Regions from separate parts of the Homo sapiens genome. Here regions 2, 3 and 4 are each linked to region 1. Evidence: promoter capture Hi-C in 16 types of primary human blood cells and fetal thymus (Javierre and others, 2016). All regions are on one chromosome and are shown on one strand. Each heading gives the region's core, a stretch centred on a gene start or on the middle of the fragment in contact. The rest is flanking DNA. Distances are from core to core; before and after follow the strand shown.

Region 1 (3,325 bases), core at 808-3,307:
GCATGAGACCCAGCTCGGAAATCATGGCCCTCCCCGTGCTCCCAGATACCCCTCACAGTCCAGCCCATTCACAGTTCAATAGGCACAGGGACCTCTCCTGGACCGGAAAATGTCTGGAAGCACGAGTCACCTGGGAAGCAGGGAGGGCGCTTTACACATCGGTCTCAGAAACGACTGTCCCTACCTCATCTCCCATGAGACAGACTCTGTAAAGAAAAAAAAAACCAAAGCGCTCAATAACTGGCAGCTACTACACGAGGCAACGCTTACGGAGGGTCAGCGCTGCTGAGACTTGTCCAGATGCCACATTAGCAGTGGAGAACCCGAGTGCCCACCCCGCCCCCGCCCCTTCCCTGCCCACGTGCCTCCCTTTGCCAGAGCTGGGGAAGTCGAACTGTCCAGATGTAGTGGCGAGACACCGCCACTTCCGGAAGGGGAAGCGCCCCTGGCTCCGCACCTCCCCTCTGCATCCCTGGGGATGGCCGAGCCGGCCCGCAGGAGGGACCCCGGGACGCCAGCACCGGGCGCGGGGGCTGGGGAGGCGAACTCGGGCGGCAGACTCGGGCACCGGGCGGCCCGCGCTGACACCTGGCTGCGGCCCAGGTCCCAGCCCCCGTCAAGGCCGGCGTTACGGGGCTGTTCCCAGGAAAGGGTTACAGGGGCCGAGAACAAAGCGCCCCCATTGGGGAAGGCGGGCTAGCGGCCGGTGGCCGGGGCGGGAGAGCCACTTTCTGGGGACCCTCAGGCTGCTCTTTGTCGGCCACGTCCCTCTTTAGTGGAGCGTCAGCCCCGCTGAAGGTGGATGCTGCATCCCACCCAAAGGCCTCTTACAGCCCCGAGCTCCACATCTGCCCCTCTTTTCTCCCAGCTGCACTGGGCGGGCCAAGGGACCCGCCTTCCCTCCGCGCGGCTTCAGCACAAAGCCGAGCCGGGGAGCGGGAGGCCATTCCCGGGTCCCCTCGCGTGGAAGGCGCCTGCGCCTCGGCCGTGCCCGGCACGGGAACGCGCCCTCCGGGGCCAGCTCAACTTCAGCAGCCCAGAAGTTGGGCTCCTCCGGGTCTCCAGCGTTCCGAGGCCAACTTCCCGGAACCTCCCGCTGCCGGGCCGGCTCAGCTCACCTCGAGCCGCCCACGGCAAGCCCGAGGGCCCTGCAGACGCTCGCCCGCGCCCCCCACGCAGCCCTGGCCCGGCTCCCCGGGCCAACGCGGCCGCCTCCCGCTCCCGCGCCGGCCGCGCTGCGCCCAAACTTGCCCTGGCGCAAGGGGCGGGGCGCCCGGGCTCGGCGGCGCTGGGGCGCAAGCCCGCGGGTCTGGTTTGAATTAGGGTCTGCAGGGGGGGCGTTGTGGCCGCGGTCACTGCATCCCCCCGGGTCACCGACGGGGGCCCGGCCGCCGCGGTGGCCGGGGCGAGGAGGGTGGGAACGGGCGACCCCGGGCGCCGCTGTGGGCTGGCGGGCTCCGACAGATGTGGAGACGTTTTACATAATTGAGCGCGGGGCCCCGGCCCCCCACCCTCCCCAGCGCGGGACCGGTGCGGCACCCACCGACAGCGGAGGAAATTGGGGCTGGAGCCCTGGTCTCGGGGCTCACCGTCCCGGGACCCGCTGGGCTAGCGCGGGAAGAAGGGAAGTCTTCGCTCCCCCTCCCCCTCCACGTGCACCCGCCGGCATCCGCGGGTGACCAGTCCCGGCTTCCCGCCGCCTCCCCGCCTGGCCGCCGGCCGCACTCACCGGCAGGGCCGGCTGCAGGCTCAGCGCCAGCGCGCACAGCCAGAGCCAGAGCGCCGCGCGCCTCATGCTGCCCGGACCGGCGGCGGGAGAGCGGCAGGCTGCGCGGGTCGCGGCTGCGGGCCGGCTTCGCGGGTTCCGCTGCTCGATGCTCTCTTGGGCGCCTGCCCAGCGCGCCGCTGTCCCAGGCGAGGGCTGCAGGGTCCGCCGGCTGGAGTCCGCTCTCTACTGCCGGATTCCTCTCCGCTCGGCTCGGATTCGGCCCGCACCTCTCCCGCCGAGCTCCGCCTTATAATAAACCCACAGGCCCTTCCTTAGCCGTTGCAAAAACTGGCCCCCCACCCCCAGCTCCGCCAGGTCTCCCGGCCAGCCCCAGTCCACACCCCCCAGGACCCCGCCCCCCAGCCACCCCTCCCGGCCCCTTCGGAACGCCCCACCCCCGGCCCGCTCCTAAGGTTCTTGCCTGCTTGGCTCCCGCTCCTCCGGTGGCCGAACGTCGCTTTCGGGAGCTGTGGTCCCCGCAAGCCGCGGTTCCCGGCCTTTCAGCTCGGCTGCTCCCTGGGTGGTGGGGCCGAGGCGCACCCCCTTCTGCCCGGGCCCGGAGTGCGGAGGCGCAGCCCGGGAGAGGGGCTGAAGGGGGGCAGGCAGTCCTCGGGCGCGAGTGTGCAGCGCCCTCTGGGCGTGGACGCGGAGCGCGCTCCAGGTGCGCAGGACTCCTAGCTCTCTTGGGGAACGCTTTCTGGGGCAGGGCGGGGACCCGGGGGCGATGGGGCCTTCAACCGACGGGCAAACACACACAGACACACCCCGGCTGTCCTCCAGCTGCGATGCGGCTCGCTGCGCCCCGCCGGCCCAGATTCTCCCGTACGCTCGCGTTCTTCCTGCACTCCACAAAGTGCTGGAGACTTGGGGCCTTAGTTTAAACAGCTGCACCCGCACGGAAGGGCTGCAAGAAAAAGGGGGACGGGGGCGGAGTTCGCAGCGTTTTTCTGTGGAAGACAACGCCCTCTCTCTTCATCTGAGCTAAAAGGAAAAATAAGTAACTTCTTTGTTCCCCGGTGACCTCGGGCACGCGGATCTGAGGAGCACCGTGCAGTTGCTGCTCCTTCGAGATCCCCTGCGAGGCCCTGGGCCTCAGTTCAAAAAGCTGTGGAAGGCCTGCGGGTGTAGGGGAAACGGCCGAGAGAGCAAAGGGGAAGAACCGGACGGGCCCTGCCCACATCTGGCAGGCAGGAGAGATGGTGCCAAACGACCTTCGCACCTGGGCCCTGAGACCAAAGATGGCGTCGTCCTCCCCTGTCTTCCCTAGGCGGAAGGCAAGAACTTGGGTCGGCCTGAGCTGGGGACCAAGAAAATATCGGGAAGTGTCCAGTGTTCCTCTTTAAAAGAATTAAACCTTCCTGGGCCACGCAGGGACTGACCGTGGGACCCTGGACTCTCCTCCACCTTCCACCGTGGAGCAGGCTCTGGAGCCGAGCAGCCTCCTGCGTCCCCATCTCATCCCCCCACTCCTCCTCACAGCACTAAAAGATGATGGCCTGCTTGTACCCCTGCTCCTGAGCACCTGTTTGACCTCAAAGAGCTCTCGCTTTTGGGGTG
Region 2 (3,404 bases), core at 37-2,536, 200 kb before region 1:
AAAAAGGAAAATCGATTTTTTTCTTAGTATAAAAGTAACATATACTTTACTATACAGAATGTAGAAACTGTAGATAAGCAAAAGAATGGAAAGACCATCCATAGACTACCACCCAAAGATAAGCTATGTGGTGTTACCTCTTTTGTCTCTGCTTATATATGCATCCATTTTTATTAAAAATGAGACCATGCTATGTTGTAGGGTTATAACTTGCTTTCTGTACTTAACATATAGTGAACACTTTTCTGTTATATTCTTCAAATACAACATTTGTAATGACTGTACTGTATTTCACTGTATATTTCATTTACTTAACCAATTTTCCATTGTGGGACATGTAGTTTCTACTTGTTTTTAATTGCAAGCTGTGCTTCACTGAACCTTTTTTCATGAATCTTTGTGAATTACTATTATCTCCCTAGAAGAAATTACTAGAAATGGAAGGGCTGAAATGACTAGGTCTTGATACTTTGTGTACCATCTATGTTAGGAGTCTCAACTACCAGCGTTGTTTCAGCTACCACCTCTATATTGCTAATTTCCAGATCAGAGTCTCTTGTCCCAACCTACTCCTGAGCAATAAAACTACATTTGTAACTCGCTTTTGTACTCCTCTATTTAAAGGTCACAAAAGTACGTCATGCTCAATCATAACCAAGAATGAACTCATCTTCCTCTTTTTTAAAAAAGCTCACTGTCCTTTATTCCCCATTTATTCCACTATTCCTCTGGCCAGACAGGCATGAAAGAAATCTTGATGACCTCCTTCCTCTCTTGATCCTTTCATATTAAGTTGCGAAGTCTTTGATTGACATCTCTACCAGTTCAAGTCCTAACCAACTCTCAAGACCTATCTCAAATCTGCTCACTGTAGGAAGTTTATCTTCCCTTTTCCAGCCAGACAGGATCCCTGAAGGAGGGAGAAGAGAGGACAGAGAAAATATTTGAAGAGATAATGACTGAAATTTTTCCAAACATGATGAAATCTATAAACCTACAGATTTAAGAATCTCAATGAACCTCAAATGCAACAAATGTGAAAAAACAAAAAGCCAGCATCGAGGAACATCATAAACAAATTGTTCAAAATCAGGGCTATAAGAGAAAATGTTCATTACCCAAAGAAAAAAAATGTTCCATACAGAGAAAGTCAAGGATGACAGTAAATTTCTCATTAGAAACAATGTGTTCAAGAAGACAGTGAAGCAATATCTTTAAAGTGCTGAAAGAAAAAAAACAAAAATAAACCAAAAAAAGGTCCACTTAGAATTCTACATCCAGGGAAGATAGCTTTTGAAAAACAAAGGTAATTTTTTTTTTTTTTGAGATGGTGTCTTGCTCTGTTGCCCAGGCTGGAGTGCAGTGGAGCGATCTTGGCTCACTGCAACCTCCGCCTCCTGGGTTCAAGCAATTCTCCTGCCTCAGCCTCCTGAGTAGCTGGGATTACAGGCCCGCACCACCATGCCCGGCTACTTTTTGTATTTTTAGTAGAGATGGGGTTTCACCATGTTGGTCAGTCTGGTCTCAAACTCCTGACCTCATGATCTGCCCGCCTTAACCTCCCAAAGTGAGTAAAAATATTTTTAGATATACAAAACCCAAAAGAACTTATCACCAGCAGAACCACACTGTAAAAAATGTTAAAGTCTTTCTGAAAGAAGAAAAATTATACCAGATGGAAATATGTATCTACACAAGGGAATGAAGAACACCAAAAATGGTAACTAAGAGGGTACCTATGTAGTTTTTTAAATTATCTTTTTATCTTTAAAAGATCATGAACTGGCTGGATGTGGTGGCTCACACTTGTAATCTCAGCACTTTGGGAGACCAAGGAGGGAGGATTGCTTGAGGACAGGAAATTGAGGCTGCAGTGAGCTATAATTGCACCATTGCACTACAGCCTGGGTGATAAAGACCCTGTCTCTAAAAAATAATAATAAAAGATAATTAACTGTTTAACCAAAAGTGAGTCACAGAAGGTCAGAGGAAGAAGGAATGTACAATCTCATTTGCAATCTGAATTACTTACTGAATTCATATAATTGGTGGGAGGGCCAGGAATATAAATCAAGTTCTCTGATGCAACCTAACCAAATGATAACAGATATACTAGTCCCCGGTTATCTGTGGTTTTACTTTTCAAAGTTTCAGTTATCTGTGGGGGACTACAGTCCAAAAATACTGAATGGAAAATTCCAGAAGTAAATAATCCATAGGCTTTAAAAAAATAATTTATAAGTTTTAAATTGCATGCCATTCTGAGTAGCATGATAAACTCTCACACTGTCCTGCTCTGTACTGCCCTGGACATGACTCACTCCTTTGTCCAGTGCATCCACGCTGCCTGCATGTATTACCCACCTATTGGGCACTTCGTAATCATCTTGGTTATCAGATCAACAGATCACAAGAAGAAAGGTAGGTACAGTATAAGATGTTTTGAGAGAGATACAGAGAGGGAAACCACATTCAGATAACTTTTATTAAATTGTAGTTGTTCTACAGAACAGAGCCCTCAGAAATAACGCCGCATATCTACAACTATCTGATCTTTGACAAACCTGAGAAAAACAAGCAATGGGGAAAGGATTCTCTATTTAATAAATGGTGCTGGGAAAACTGGCTAGCCATATGTAGAAAGCTGAAACTGGATCCCTTCCTTACACCTTATACAAAAATTAATTCAAGATGGATTAAAGACTTAAATGTTAGACCTAAAACCATAAAAACCCTAGAAGAAAACCTAGGCATTACCATTCAGGACATAGGCATGGGCAAGGACTTCATGTCTAAAACACCAAAAGCAGTGGCAACAAAAGCCAAAATTGACAAATGGGATCTAATTAAACTAAAGAGCTTCTGCACAGCAAAAAAAACTACCATCAGAGTGAAAAGGCAACCTACAAAATGGGAGAAAATTTTCGCAACCTACTCATCTGACAAAGGGCTAATATCCAGAATCTACGATGAACTCAAACAAATTTACAAGAAAAAAACAACCCCATCAAAAAGTGGGCCAAGGACATGAACGGACACTTCTCAAAAGAAGACATTTATGCAGCCAAAAAACACATGAAAAAATGCTCACCATCACTGGCCATCAGAGAAATGCAAATCAAAACCACAATGAGATACCATCTCACACCAGTTAGAATGGTGATCATTAAAAAGCCAAGAAACAACAGGTGCTGGAGAGGATGTGGAGAAATAGGAACACTTTTACACTGTTGGTGGGAGTGTAAACTAGTTCAACCATTGTGGAAGTCAGTGTGGCGATTCCTCAAGGATCTAGAACTAGAAATACCATTTGACCCAGCCATCCCATTACTGGATATATACCCAAAGGACTATAAATCATGCTGCTATAAAGACACATGCACACGTATGTTTATTGTGGCACT
Region 3 (3,225 bases), core at 537-3,036, 220 kb before region 1:
GGAGAATCACTTGAGCCCGGGAGGTAGAGGCTGTATGAGCCAAGATCACACCACCGCACTCCAGCCTGGGTGACAGAATGAGACCCTGTCTCAAAAAAGAGAAGAAAAAAAAATATATATATATATAACTAACTTTCCCACTAGTATTCTTTCTCTTCTGTCCCTCTTCACTGTCCTGTGCTTTGTACATTAAGACAGTAAGGCTTAGTGGTTAAGAGCCTATGTAACCACTAGAGGAAGTACCTGGGTTCAAACCCTGGGTCTGCTACTTGCTAGCAGAGTAACCATGGGCAAGTTACTGAATCAGTTTCCTCCTAACGTTGCTGTGAGTATTAAGGTACATTACTGTATCTAAAATGCCTAGAATCCTGCATGGCCTACAGTAGGTATTGAAGAATATGGAATACTGGCATCTGGGAGTGTTGTCTGCCTTAACTGAAAATTTTCTTTGATTTATGTTTTTTTTTAAAATAGATTGCTTCACTTTATTCCATACTATCTGTTAGTTTAAATGGAAATTTGTTTTTGGTTTGTTTTCCCAGGTCTTCAATGTTCCTGGCAGCTTAAAGTACCAACTGGGACACTTGTCACTAGTTTGAGAAGTGCAGCCATAGGTGAGTTCTCTCCACCCCAACTTTCTTAGTCATCCTGCCCTGAACAAATCAGCTCAAGCCAGTCCCCCGCCAGTGCCACTTTCCACTTGTCTCCATTGAAACCTTCACCCTCCTTCAAGGCCCACCACCAGCCCTTCGCAGATGCCCACCTCCCCAGCCTCTACAGCCCTTTGTTTCCATCAGTCCCTCTCCCTGGCTCAGTCTCTGCTTTCATAAGGAGCCGGCTCTCTGTTCACCCAGATTTAACTTGCTCAGAGGCAGAAACTTAGGCTTCTTTGTATGCTCCCAATGCTTAGTTCCATACTGGGAACAAAGTAGGTGTCCGGTATTTTTTTACTGGTTTCCCTTTAAAAAAAAAAAAAAAAAAAAAAAAGAGGGGACTGGGTGACATGCCATTTCCCTTTGTCTATCTTGATGAAGTCTGTATGTCCTCAAGGGAGAGGAAAATATATGTCAAATCTAAAACACATTCAATATGCCAAAGCTAAACGGCACCTTGAGAGCTTGGAATTTCTCTCAGGAGTGTTTTTACATTTATAAATGCCACCCTGTCCTGCCAGTAAGTTTAAATCAAATTAATGAGGATTAACAGCACTGGCCTGGGCTCATTGGCCAACGTATAAGGCTGAGTTTCACCAATGATTGATCGTCTAGAAACTGCCAGGGAGTGACTGGCCTCAAACTTACTGGAAGATCTGTGTGGGTCTAATTCAGGCATTCACAAAGTCTTCTTTACTAAAATCATCCAGCTTTAAGATTAACACTACAGAAAAGTTCCAGGCCAAGTTTTAACTGGAAAAAGATCAGTTCATCCTATCACACCAAATAGTTACTGTCCAACTGACTTCCACTAAAGTTTTCTCTTTGCTTAAAAGTCTTCAGTGTACAGAGCTATAAAATTTTCCTGGATAAGGACCCTACATTTAGTTAGTTTTTCTCATATCCCCCACTCCCTACCTATTTCCCAGTAATTTTCTGAAGTAATCTATGTTTGCTCCAGTGAGCTCACCACCCTCTGAGCAATGTGTGCCTTCATCTAAAAGTGTGATAGAATGTCTGAACCTTGATCTTAAGTTACCTTTAAAAACCTCTTTGCTGGTGAGTTGCAAGTTGGTTTCATGTGAAAGACCCAAGTATGAAAGAATTTTTTGAGTGGATCTTACCTGAACATGTTTTTTTATCTGCATTCAGAGTGTAGCCCTCATAGCATTCACAATGATGGGACCCTGTTCTGTCATTCACACAAATGTGCTGACACCCATGGGTACCCAAAGCACATTTATCTTGAGCTGTGAAACAAAAAGTCAGGAGAAAAGAAATAGAAGGTGGAAAAGTATTTTATTACCCAGGATAGAAACCTTATTTGCAGCTGGAAACATATGAGGAAAACTTACTGGAAACTATTCAAAGCCATTGGCACTGTTTTTTTCTAACTAGAAGTTAACTGAGTTAAGTGAAATCCTGCACATACAATAATTATTCTCTGACCTTCCACAATTGCTTTTGGAAATCATCAGTATTGAGTTTTTATAACCTAAGTATCTCATAAATACTTTCTAGCATTCCTTTTAGGCTTATTGTACTTATCCCAACTCAGCGGGATACCAACAGTTGTGTGGCTAATTACATTAGATTCAGAAAAACATAGAATTAGAGTTTGAAGAAATTGTAGTTCAACCCTCTCCTATTTTTTAAATGAGGGAAAGGAGCGCGAGGGAGACCATTTGATTCAGAGCAGCATAAAAACTCAAGACACACATTTTCATTCAATGCACTTTCCTCTCTACTGATATATTTTTAAACTATTTTTTACTTTTAAACTTTTCATCTGAGATAATTTCAGATTTATGAAAAGGTTGCAAAAACAGTGCAAAAAATTCCTGTACTTCACCCTGTTTCCCCAAACAGTAATTTACATAACCATAGTATGATTATCAAACCAGAAATTAACATTGATATAATATGATTTACTAATCTACAGACTTTATTCAAATGTTGCCATTAATGTCCTTTTTCTGGTCCAGGATCCAATCCAGGATTCCACATTGCATTCAGTTTCACATCTCCGTCCTCTCCAACCTGGGACACTTCCTAAGTCTTTCTTTGTCTTTTATGACTTTCACGTTTCTGAGAAGTACTGGAAAACTATTTTGTGAACTGAGAGTGTCTCTCAGGTTTTTCTAATCTTTCCTCATAATCCTGAATTTTTAGCAAGAATACTACAGGTGTGCTGTTGTGTCCACAGTATTGAGCACAGCATGTCAGGTCATACATGATGTCACTATGTGTCATCACTGATGATGTTAACTTTGATCACTTAGTTAAGGTGATGTCTGCCAGTTTCTCCACTATAAAGTTACTGTCTTTCCCTTTGTAAGCAACAGGTAACTTGTGGGTTGTTATGTGATTTCAACCTACTGAATTGTCTGTAGCATTTGGGAAGGATTGTTCAGGCTGGCTACAGAGAAGGAAATGAGCAACATATTTATGTATTTGGGCCGAGATACATACATGTTACCATTTCTAACATTTTGGATAAGACTTAAAAATGGGAAAAGCTCAAGGTGGCAAGAGAGGAAAACACACCAACTTCCCAGTCAATGTGACCTGC
Region 4 (3,612 bases), core at 742-3,241, 140 kb before region 1:
GGCCATCACCAATCATTCTATATGACAAACGCTCCTTCTAACAACCCCACAATATCACCCCTTACCACAAAATCTTCCTTCAACTTAATCTCTCCCACTCTAGGTTCCCACGCTGCCCCTAATCCCGCCCTGAGAAATATCGCCCATTATCTCTCCATACCACCTCCAAGGATTTTTGCTGCCCCAACACTTCAATACTATTTTATGTTATTTTTCTTATTAATATAAGAAGGCAGGAATGTCAGGCCTCTGAGCCCAAGCTAAGCCATCATATCCCCTGTGACCTGCACGTATATGTCCAGATGGCCCGAAGCAAGTGAAGAATCACAAAAGAAGTGAAAATGGCCAGTTCCTGCCTTAACTGATGATATTCCCCCATTGTGATTTGTTCCTGCCCCACCTTAACTGAGCAATTAAACTTGTGAGATTCCTTCTCCTGGCTCAAAACCTCCCCCACTGAGCACCCTGTGACCCCCACCCCTGCCTGTAAGAGAAAAACCCCCTTTGACTGTAATTTTCCACTACCCACCCAAATCCTATAAAACAGCCCCACCCCTATCTCCCTTCACTAACTCTCTTTTCGGACTCAGCCTGCCTGCACCCAGGTGATTAAAAAGCTTTATTGCTCGCACAAAGCCTGTTTGGTGGTCTCTTCACACGGACGCACATGAAACCGGGTTCAAGCAATTATCCTGCCTCAGCCTCCCCAGTAGCTGGGATTACAGGCACCCGCCATCATGCCCAATTAATCTTTGTATTTTTGTAGAGACAAGCTTTCACCATGTTGGCAGAGCTATTCTTGAACTACTGACCTCAGGTGATTTGCCCGCCTTGGCCTCACAAAGTGCTGGGATTACACGCGTGAGCCACTGCGCCTGGCCTAACTTCTTTTCTTTATAAATTACCCAGTCTGTGGTATTCTGTCACAGCAAAAGAAAACAGACTAAGACAGAGTCCCTTGATGTAATCATCAGGGGGTCCTTGGCACAGAGCAGGGCATAGAATAGATCTGGGCAGAGAGGCAAATAGAAAATACTCAACACAGTGCACGTACAGATTTCCATTCCCTCCTCATTCCATCCTTAGCTGTTTGGATTAATCATGTTCCTACGTCTTTCCTCTAGGACCTACAATGGCTCCCACTGTCTTCAGCACCAAGGTTAATCATTTTCGCATCTGAGGAGTCTTAGCCTTTCCCCTGTAATCTCCTGGAATGCATCTACTTTTCTAAGTGGACAGGACTCCTAGACAAACAACTAATTCATTGTGGTTCAATCCAGCCTCACAGCTTTTGCCTATGCTATTCCCTTGGACAGTCATGGAACATAGAGTTGGGAAGGCTTTTAGGAAGATCTGTTCTTACCCCTTTATGGCCCAGACAGGAAACCTCAGACTTGGTAGGAAGAAGTGACACACTTAAAGTGACACGCTTCTCCCACCTACCAACCTTCCCTAGCCTCCTTTCTCCAGCCATGGTCTCTGCTAGAAAGCCATGCAGGCTGCCTGTCCTGTCCTTGGACTGCATTTAAGGTTCTCCCCTTTGATCACTGACTGCCTTGTTTCTAGTTGCTGCCTGTCTCCAACTCCCTCTTCCTTGACCAGAATACAAAGTTCTTTTTCTTAACTTTCGCTTCAGCATAGTGTTGGGAATTTGAATGCAACAATTTTCTTTTTAAATTACATCCTTTGATTATAGTTCAACAATTTAATCATAGTTATTAAATAACTTAAACATCTGTCTAGTTTGGTACCTGTGGTATAATGGGGGGATAAAAAACCACAGGCTTTAGAATCAAATAGCCTGGGTTTGTTTGTATTTTTTTAAAAACAAACCTTTGTTGAATTTACTCTGGTGAAAGAAGTTCTTATTGCAGCTGAAAGTGTCACACACAGACTGGGGAGTAAATGTCCTGTCCTGGTAGAGTGAGGACCCTTCTGATGGATGTTTAAACTACTTCTGCATTTTGCACTACTTCCCCTAAGACATGATAACTTTTGAACAAGATTAACTTCAATATGAAGTTTAATTTTTTCATTAGAATCAGGATTACCAAACACCCTTTTCTCTAGCTTTGTTGTTCTTCACCTGCAGTCCCTGGATAAATTTCAAGGATCTGGTGAATTCTTTTAGAGAGTATGTAGAAGTAAAACCACCTTTGCAAAAATGATAACAGTGAGAACATTATGGCAATGGCAGAGATCTGATCTACCAACCCCACTCTTGCCTTCAAGCTGACTTCATTATTCATAGGCTTAGGGCTAGCTTTGGAAGACAATAATTTATAGTTTAAATAATAGCCCTTCCCCCAAAACTCAACCACCTTTGTAAAGCTAATGAGAGACCACCAGGTTAGGGGGAGGAGAGGAGCCTAAATTCTGCTAAGGTGTAGACATAAATTATTGCCAGCCATTATTCCGGAGGTCACAAGATACACAACTTTTCCAATCACTCCTGCAGATAACATCATTCTTGTGGAACATAAGGTTGGCCTTTTGAGATAGCTGCTAGCGCCTGTTTTTATCAGAACAGAGCAGAAAAGATTCTTTTGAACTGATAGCCCAAATATCAGTGACTCTGAGTTCCTATTAGCAGGAGGCAGACCCTCAGTACCTCTGCAGCCTGTGTTTGACCTCTTGGTTATTTTCTGGGCATCTTCAAAAGGGGACCCCAAGAGTTCCCGAGCCCATTGGTCCACCACAGATGTCCTGGCACTCCTGGTATCCTCTCTTGGTCTGGCCTCCCCAGCCAGTGCCCATTGCTCTTCAAGTTTCCTGAAGGACTCTCGGTGATGTGATCACCTGAAAGCCGCCAAGGTCCACTCCCCATGGCCAGAGCAGTGATGGTGCTCTGCCTCCGTGTAAATGAGGAAGAAAAGTGCTATTCCTGATCCTGCCTCCCACCAAGTGCCTCATGAAAGCAGCCCCTCGGCTTCCTCCCTCTGTTCAGCCTGCACCCCCTCAAAGAAGCCCTCTCCGCCTGGGATGGCCTCCCCAAGCACACTGGAGCGCCAGCTCATGGAGGGCAACATGTCCATAGCTTGCTGACAGTATGCACTCACACAGTTCAGCTATTAATTTCAACGTGTTGATTAGGTGGTGTTTATAATATTTTTATTTTTTTAGAAACAGTTCTTTTACTTCCGAACAATGTAGTACAATTATCTGTGAGCATATCTGTGGTGTTTATGTATTTTCATTTTCCTGAAGAAAAAGCTTTCGAGAAGCCCTCATAACGGCCGGTGTGAAATGCCTGGGCAGTGACCGCCTCACCCCAGGAACAAGCCACGTGAAGGCCCAGGGTTGTCCCTCCTCCTCCTCCACACTTCGGAAGCTCTTTTCTTCCCTTCTTTCCACATTGTCCCTGCACATACACCCCTCGCCACCTCCTACCCCACACAAATTCCCAGCAGCTTTGGTGACAACTCAGACATTCCTCATTACACGGGTCTATACACAATCTTTTATGAGTTAATAACTACAGTTTCCCCCAAGGACAATGGTCACACTACATTTGTGGGACTCAAGGGCCCTTTTTGCTGAGGAAGGAAAGAAGCCAGGAAAAAAAGGAAGGAAGGAAGGAAAGAAGAAGGAAGGGAGAGAGACAAGGAAGGA

What was found. Contacts are between HindIII fragments. The CHiCAGO score rates a contact against its expected background, and 5 or more counts as called.
Region 2: a fragment that was not itself captured here is called in contact with the fragment with the promoter of SDC1 in region 1 in 1 of 17 cell types (M0 macrophages); the score reaches 5.5 in M0 macrophages.
Region 3: a fragment that was not itself captured here is called in contact with the fragment with the promoter of SDC1 in region 1 in 1 of 17 cell types (M0 macrophages); the score reaches 5.3 in M0 macrophages.
Region 4: a fragment that was not itself captured here is called in contact with the fragment with the promoter of SDC1 in region 1 in 1 of 17 cell types (M0 macrophages); the score reaches 5.6 in M0 macrophages.

Annotation. Positions count from the first base shown.
Region 1 is chr2:20,223,073-20,226,397 of GRCh38, forward strand. SDC1 (syndecan 1) reads right to left here and starts at 2,058. Exons shown (of 5, transcript NM_002997.5): 1 at 1,730-2,058. The coding sequence starts at 1,795. RefSeq lists enhancers at 1-266, 2,026-2,705, 2,706-3,325 and silencers at 425-624, 1,035-1,494, 1,515-1,574, 1,615-2,034, 2,095-2,474. The HindIII fragment of the contact is 9,225 bases long and covers 1-3,325 here.
Region 2 is chr2:20,023,258-20,026,661 of GRCh38, forward strand. No RefSeq gene overlaps it. Among named protein-coding and RNA genes, the nearest start is that of MATN3, 12 kb to the left of the region's middle. The HindIII fragment of the contact is 7,557 bases long and covers 1-3,404 here.
Region 3 is chr2:19,998,664-20,001,888 of GRCh38, forward strand. MATN3 (matrilin 3) reads right to left here. Exons shown (of 8, transcript NM_002381.5): 5 at 1,778-1,903. WDR35-DT (WDR35 divergent transcript) reads left to right here. Exons shown (of 3, transcript NR_110235.1): 2 at 543-614. Among named protein-coding and RNA genes, the nearest start is that of WDR35-DT, 10 kb to the left of the region's middle. The HindIII fragment of the contact is 3,780 bases long and covers 1-3,225 here.
Region 4 is chr2:20,087,453-20,091,064 of GRCh38, forward strand. The region is part of intron 2 of LAPTM4A-DT (LAPTM4A divergent transcript); the gene reads left to right. Among named protein-coding and RNA genes, the nearest start is that of LAPTM4A-DT, 37 kb to the left of the region's middle. The HindIII fragment of the contact is 2,440 bases long and covers 772-3,211 here.